Linked DNA regions of Homo sapiens: region 1 is linked to region 2. Evidence: promoter capture Hi-C in 16 types of primary human blood cells and fetal thymus (Javierre and others, 2016). All regions are on one chromosome and are shown on one strand. The core of a region is centred on a gene start or on the middle of the fragment in contact, and the rest is flanking DNA. Distances in the headings are between cores, read along the strand shown. Region 1 overlaps EPHB6 (EPH receptor B6). Region 2 holds the start of KEL (Kell metallo-endopeptidase (Kell blood group)).

What was found. The method cuts DNA at HindIII sites, captures the fragments that hold promoters and counts their contacts. A CHiCAGO score of 5 or more calls a contact.
Region 1: a contact is called between a fragment that was not itself captured here and the fragment with the promoter of KEL in region 2, in 4 of 17 cell types (erythroblasts, M0 macrophages, megakaryocytes and 1 more). The highest score is 7.5, in erythroblasts.

What each region holds. Positions count from the first base shown.
Region 1 is chr7:142,857,975-142,861,742 of GRCh38, reverse strand. It overlaps EPHB6 (EPH receptor B6), which reads right to left. Exons shown (of 20, transcript NM_004445.6): 2 at 557-691. Among named protein-coding and RNA genes, the nearest start is that of EPHB6, 4.8 kb to the right of the region's middle. The HindIII fragment of the contact is 701 bases long and covers 1,559-2,259 here.
Region 2 is chr7:142,960,831-142,964,770 of GRCh38, reverse strand. It overlaps KEL (Kell metallo-endopeptidase (Kell blood group)), which reads left to right and starts at 2,408. Exons shown (of 19, transcript NM_000420.3): 1 at 2,408-2,567; 2 at 2,899-2,976; 3 at 3,270-3,411; 4 at 3,667-3,843. The coding sequence starts at 2,565. RefSeq lists a cis regulatory region at 1-326 and a silencer at 2,449-2,644. The HindIII fragment of the contact is 12,002 bases long and covers 1-3,940 here.

The DNA.
Region 1 (3,768 bases), core at 660-3,159, 100 kb after region 2:
CAAATTGTTTATAAGAGAAAAGGCTGTAAACTAACTGTCCATCAATTGGAAGACAGTAAAATTATAGTACATCCTTAGAAAGAAATACGGGCAACTGTTGATGCACTGATATAAAAAGCATTTCCAAGTGAAAGTGGGACAATGGAGAACAGTGTAAAGTAAGCTCCCCTTTGTTAAGAAGGATATATACACATACATATGTATGGAAGGATATCTATGGAAGAGCATCCAAAACCTGTGAAAAAGGCAAAGGAAGTGGACTGAGACCCAGTGCAAGGGAGACTTAACTTTCATTGTATTCTCATTAATTGTATCCATTTAAATTTTTGCATTCTTAAACTCTTGCATGTGTATTCTTTCAACTAAATCATTGATTAAAATTTTCTTTAAAACTATAGGATAATAACTGTTTAGTAAAGTTAATCAAAACAGTGTTCATATCCTCATAATGGCTTCTCAGAACTATGTAGTAAGCTACCTCTTATATAAAACCTTCCTGTGCCTTCAGAAGGTACACCACTAAGCTCACGAGCAAATGAACAGAAGGAATAGCTACCTCCAGTGTCACAATGAAGACAAACAGGCTTGGCACCTCCTTTGCTTGTTGATTTAGAGATTGGCGGTTCTCTATCTCTCCTCGTGTCTGAGTCTCAGAAGTCTGTGAATTGGGTGGACTATAATCCCTTTATTTCTGTGAAGAAAAAAAAGAGACATGTTGCCCAGATTGCTCAAAAGACATAGAACTGAGAGGAAAACAAAAAAAAAGCCAATTAGAAGAGAAGTTGTGATTTGTTTTTCCTGGATATATATGGCCTTGGGATTGTTGAAAGCTATCATAAAACAAAAATCAAACTATGAAACTTTAATTGCAACAAATATGAAAATCATAATTTGATTCCTACTAATTTTTTTCTGGCACTGCGGGCTGTGCTGTCCATGAAGTTATCATGGAAATACACCATTTCTACATACGCGTGGGCTGATGTAGAGTGGGCACCTGCCAACTAGCCCCTGAAACTCACCTTTTATACATCTTTAACCCTATTTGTGAAATAGAGAGTTCAATTTACAGCCTATGGAGACAAGTAAGGAGCATTTCCATATGGCAAATTGCTCTTAAGTAATGTTCTTTGCAAAAATGTCTGAAATGTTACTAGGATCCTTCACAGATGAAATAAATGCTTTGGAGAGGAACGGGGAGATCATGAAGTAAAAAGCAGGCATAGCTATTAAATTCTGTAACCTTGGCACCGTCACCAGTGGCTGTTTAATAAATATCCTAAAGTAATTCATGTTGTAAGTGCATCCCCTCCAAACTCTCAATGGCTTAATTTGGAGACGTGCTTGACACACTGAAGCAAACCAGAGTCACGGAGTCCTTAGAAATACTGTTATCAGGGAAAGAAAATGCCAGCAGCAGGTTTTTAAACAATGAAGGCTATTTTACCATTTGCCTAGAAGTTATTCTTTAAAATAGTCTCTTTCTTTCACTCAGAACATGGATGGATTCTGTAATCTGTACAAAGAAGAAACAGTAAGCCCTGTGTCTTCTCAAGCTTACAACTAGGCAAATAATCATGAAGAAGGAACAATAAATATTTTGGAAATATTTCAATGAATTATTTTGAAAGACAGCCAAGCAAGATAGAAAAGATGCGCTGCAGATAGTATCAGCTGTCCAATATGGAACACTCTGGAAGATGAATAGCAAGATATTTGCTTTGATGACCCGAACTACAAGGAACACAGTCACTTGTGGTTGCAATAGGGCGTGCTTGCATAGCCTTAGCATGCCTCGTAATGACAACACGAAGCTGGCCTCCCTCCAGAAGATCCAGAAAAGAGCAAAAGCAATTATGAAACATGGATGTTAAGGCCACTCAGCTTCTGCCATCAAGAAACAGCATAAAGAAAAGAAGAAAATGGAGACACTGCCTGTGGATGACCACTTCAGCAATTTTTTGAAATTTTACTAAGAACAAAGATATTCATTAAAAAGAAATGGTTGAGGATCTTAAAGTACCCAGAAGGATACTTCTAATGTTTGATGAGGACCTCTTTTAGATTCAGATCCAGATGACTGAAGGTTATAAATACATTTTTTCAGAAAAAAAAAATTGTTGCTGAGTCAGACTAGGAAGTTAGGTGAGTTCTTACTTATCAAACAAACCAGATAAATTCAAGACTTTTAATTTTAATATATAAAAAGAATATGGGTGTACCCCTGTTGCAGGAATCCAAATAAAGAAAAAGGAAGCTTTATTAAGATATGGAATAAATTGCTGTCAGCAAATTCATACCACTGCAGATTCTTTTGAAGCCAATTTCAAAGGCAGAAACATAAGTGACAAGAACACGGCTGCTCCACATGCCTGGAATGCTAAGTAAGCAGGACTCAGAACTTGATTTTTCAAAGGTGTCTTCAATGGTTGTGGGCATGGAGCATCTTCTGCATTTGGTCCAGGAGAGCATCCCAGGGACAGGCCAGTACATTTCTCCTGCCACAGAGATGGGAAGCAGCCTCTGCAAAGCCAGGCCCCTTGCTCCTCTCTCACAGCCTGCTTGAGAGTCCTCTCTCCTCTGACTTACAAAAGGAACTGGTCAGTATTTAGAAATTCTCTAACACAAGAATGTGCAAAAGAACTTATCTCCTTTAGAAAAATATTCACATTTCAGATGTGTATAAGGTTTTAAAAATATAAAACCAGAAGCAGCAGAAATGTGAACATAAAACAATGGTGGAGAAAACGAGACGGATTAGACAAAGTTTTAGGTAACAAAAATTGCAGTCTATGACTTTATAATATGTTCTCAGCTTCTTTTATAGATATATCACTTAATATCTTTTTGATACAGTAGAGACAATAGATCCACAAGCCTGCTACATCTCTTTGGTTTACAAAAATAAGACTGTTTCTTAGGTATCAAGGTTGTGTTTTGTTTTCAGAAACTGGCAAAAAGTAAAGATTTGTAGAATCATAGGTTACAAAGCATAGCTTACGAGTTATGTTGCTATAAAAATGAAATATTTCACTTTGGGAGGCCAAGGTGGGCGGATCACAAGATCAGGAGATCGAGACCGTCCTGGCTAACACGGTGAAACCCCGTTTCTACTAAAAATACAAAAAAAAAAAAAAAAATTAGCTGGGCGTGGTGGCGTGTGCCTGTAGTCCCAGCTGCTGGGGAGGCTGAGGCAGGAGAATGGCGTGAACCCGGGAGGCAGAGCTTGCAGTGAGCCGAGATCGTGCCACTGCACTCCAGCCTCGGCGACAGAGCAAGATGCTGTCTCAAAAAAAAAAAAAAAAAAAAAAAAAAAAAAGAATGACTTAAAAGTAAATTAAATTGGTAAATTGGTAAGAATTTAAAAAATTAATCGTGCTCCAATTAAATGCTAAATATGATATTTTCATGAGCAAATCAAGCTTACTTAATATAGTTTATGCACCTCAATCCACAAAGTGAATTTTTAAAGATTAAATAATGTAAGCCAAATAAGCTTGGAGGAAGGTAGGCAGAAGACATATTAGGCCATTAAAATGGGTTACTGTGGGAGGTAGAAATGAAGGATTGTAGGTGGGGGCATTAATTTTGTCTTACACATAATTCAATTATTTTTCTTGTTACAGTAAGCATACCTTATTTTTATAATTAACGTAAAATCTCATAATTAAAATCTAAACAAAAAAGAAAAATATTTGTAAAACCTAGACAAATAAGCATACGTTTACATTTTATTCACTCCCCATGCCATTTTCCTTCTATGTTTCA
Region 2 (3,940 bases), core at 1,159-3,658:
AGAAGGAGGCAGCATCCGAAAAGATAAATGTGGTCCATGTGCCACAGCTGTTAACACACCTCTTCTCGGGGCTTAGATCTGAGTGAAGGCTGCTGCACTCCCGTGACTGGGTATGGCTGTGCTGGTGATGACTCACCATGGAGTAGGATATGGGTGATAAGAAGAAGTCCTGCTCCTGAGACAGCTCCCAGGATGGAGGTTGCTTGGCCTTCAGGAGGAGGCTGAGTAGGAATGGTGGACCTGGCAGCTGTGCTGCCCTATCCCTGTGGCTGGCTCAGCTTCTCTGACAGGGAGAGAACCTAAGTCCAGGCTGTGGTGGCTGTCCATAGGCAAATGTCACAGAGCACACTCCATCTTCAACTTTCTCTTATCAAATCTAAGTGGTCTCCATTATCATCTTCCTAGGGAAACATCAGCTCAGGGGCTTTGATTGATAGAAAAGGAGTGAGGAAGGGAATATGTGTGAAGGAAGCTAAAAGCCCATGGGGAGAGTATTGGACTTTCTGTGGAAGGGAAGTTTGAAGAGGAGGCACCATCAGGGTGTACCCACACAGACCAAACACCTCTAGAATCCTGAGTCAGCTTTTTCCCCTCACTCTGATTCCTACTCCCCCCTTAATCAAAATTCCATTGTTCGCTGGCATCACTATTCCCCTAGTCATGCAGAAATGCAACTTGGAGCTCCTCTGTGGCTCTATCATAAACCCCTCCTCCATTCAATCCATTGCCATGACTTTATTCCATACAATTTTTCTTTCTACGCACTTCCCTCCCCTCTGCCATCCCCTTGGGCCGGGCCCTCCCTTCATCACTCCTGCAACACCAAACTAACCACTCTGTTTCTTGTCTTTTATCCAATCAGTCCAGATCCCCAATACCACACCGGCGTTTCTTAGATATTATTGTATCTTGCCACACCTTTCCTCAAAAGCCTTATTTTTCCCAATGCTTTCTTTTCTAATGTATGAAGTTCTGACTTTTCTTTATGACTTTCATGATACCCGACCAGCTGGCCCCAGGGGGCACAATGGCTTTACTCCACTTCTCCACACCCACCCTCATCCTGGCAAGTGCACCATGGCCCTAGCACAGTGCTGATGGAATCTGGAAATATCGCCAGGGGATCATTTGCAAGACTAACCTAATAAATTACATTATTTTTTTCCTGGGATGAGGAAACAAGGACAGAGTTGAAACACCTTCCCCCAGAAATGTGCTTGCCTCTCTCAGACCACAGGTAAGGGCTTAATATGATGTGAGAAAGAGGATTTCTGGCTTGGAATGCAATTCATTTCTATTAACATTTAGAAAGCATCTTGGGTGGGCAGGAATGAAAACCAGACACTGTACATGCTATGACATAGTTTTCAATCACTAAGGAGATGAAGAGGCAAGCTATCAGTGTAACAGAAAGCAGAATGAAAGAAAGAGGGGCTCAGTAAAGCCTTATTCTTTTGTAGAAGGCATGAGATCCTATGAGGTAGGCATAGGCAAGTATTACCCTCATTTTCCAGATGACAAAACTTGCTTACCTGCCTCAGAGTTTAAGTGGCTTGTTTATTGTCACAGAGCTAATAATTAGCAGATTAGGGTCTCCTAGCTGGGTGATCTTTTGAATGCATGACTTTGCCAGCAGCCAGCAGAGCTATGAAACACCGAGAGAAACAATTAAGCATGCTTGGGAACAGTGTGAATGGGCATGGAGCTGGGAGGCCTCCTGGGAAAGGTGGCATTTGACCTGGGAATTGATGAATCCCAGAAAAGCCAATCAGAGAGGTGTGAAAACAAAATTAAAATGGAGACTGGGCCTGAAAAATTCCCAGGCAAACAAAGCCAAAGACCTTAAAAATAGCCATATTCTTGCTAAAACTACAAACATAAATTAAACTTAACTTGGGTCAATTTCTGATAAATGCTTACAACAAATAAAACTTAACCCCAGCCAATGATAAGCAGCCAACTAACATATGATTATGTGACTAGGGACTTTCCAAAAAGTTACCTAAAAAATGCAATTATGTAACTGCAAACTAAGCAAATAATGTTTCATTTTGCTTCTATAACTTCCCAATAAATGCTTGCCTCTGACATTTTGTCATCGCAACACTAAACCTTTGTCGGTCTGGTGCTCCCCAATTCATGAATTGCTTCTTACTTAAATAAACTCTTTAAAATTTTACTGTGCCTCATATTTTTTTTAATACAGAAGAAATGAGAGAAGGAAGAATATTTTAGAAATAAAGGAACTTCATGGGCAGAGTCACAGTGCAAGACAAAAGGAGCAGACCAAGGGCAAGATTGCTTGGGGAGTGAAGACTCCCTCCCTCTTCTCCCCTGAGAAGCTGAGATAAAGGGGGAGGAGAAGCCTGGGTGCCCCCCACTGATAAGCAGGCTCCACCCAGAGGCCAGTCCTGTGTGTCTGGGGACAAGGCGAAAGAGCAGCAGAAGTGCCCCTTCTCCAGGATCAAGGAACTGGGGCGGGGGGTGTTTCCTGGACCCCAGTCCTCCGAATCAGCTCCTAGAGTGGAACCAGGAAGGATTCTGGAGCCACAGAAGATAGACAGATGGTAAGTCCCCTTTTGGAGTCAGAGGCTTAGCGGGGAGGGGTGAGGGTGGCTGTGTGCAAAAGTCCTGCCCCCACTGGAGGGGAGGGAATGTAAGGCTTACAGAGTAGAAAGGTGGGGAGAGAGGGAGGTAATGGGAGAGGGATCGAGAAATGGCACATTCAGGGGACAGGTTCGTTCTGAAGCCCATCTGGGAACACTGCTCCGAGATAAAAATATGTGTGTGGGGGCAGGGCAGGCAGCGAGGGTATCAAAATGGCCTGATAAAACTCTCTTCAATGCACCATTTCCTGAACCAGCTTCTCTCTCCTCCTTCTCCCTCCACTCACTTCAGGAAGGTGGGGACCAAAGTGAGGAAGAGCCGAGGGAACGCAGCCAGGCAGGTGGAATGGGAACTCTCTGGAGCCAAGAGGTAAGTGGCCTCCTCTCCTGGGTCTGGAATACACTGATGTTGTCACTCTCGGCTCTAAAATCCCACAAACACTCATCTACTAACTGTCTGCTTCATCCTCACCCAAAACAGTTGACATTCCTTGTTTTCTCATCTCCCAGGAGTTAAAGTAGGGCTGGGTTTAGGAAGAATTGGGATAATTATTTCTGTATAAAGGGACTGTAGCACCAACAGATTCATTCTCTCTCCTCTTCTTCCCATCCCTGTCTCTCAACCCCCATCTTGTATCTTTCACCTCTTGGTTCCTCCCACAGAGCACTCCAGAAGAGAGGCTGCCCGTGGAAGGGAGCAGGCCATGGGCAGTGGCCAGGCGGGTGCTGACAGCTATCCTGATTTTGGGCCTGCTCCTTTGTTTTTCTGTGCTTTTGTTCTACAACTTCCAGAACTGTGGCCCTCGTAAGCAAGATCCCAGACCCCCTAACCTAGTCAGCCCTCCCCCAGCCCTGGGGCCCAGGCCCAGTCCCTGCTCCTGGGGCTTCTGCCCACCCTGACCCTTGGGGTCCCCATGGTTCTTCTTCCTCCCTGCATCCTAACCATTTCTTTTTCATCAGCTCCCCACTTAGTTACTCACCTGATGTTCTTTGCCTAGCCCCTTGGGGGAGCCCTTGTCTTTTTGCCTCTTCTTTCCCAGCTCTGAGCTTTTCCCCACAGGCCCCTGTGAGACATCTGTGTGTTTGGATCTCCGGGATCATTACCTGGCCTCTGGGAACACAAGTGTGGCCCCCTGCACCGACTTCTTCAGCTTTGCCTGTGGAAGGGCCAAAGAGACCAATAATTCTTTTCAGGAGCTTGCCACAAAGAACAAAAACCGACTTCGGAGAATACTGGGTGAGGAAAGCAGGGTGGAAGATGCTCTGTGCAAGTGGGTGACTCTGTGCCTAAAATGACCATGACTGCTCCAAACCCTGTGTAGTTGTGGAACAAC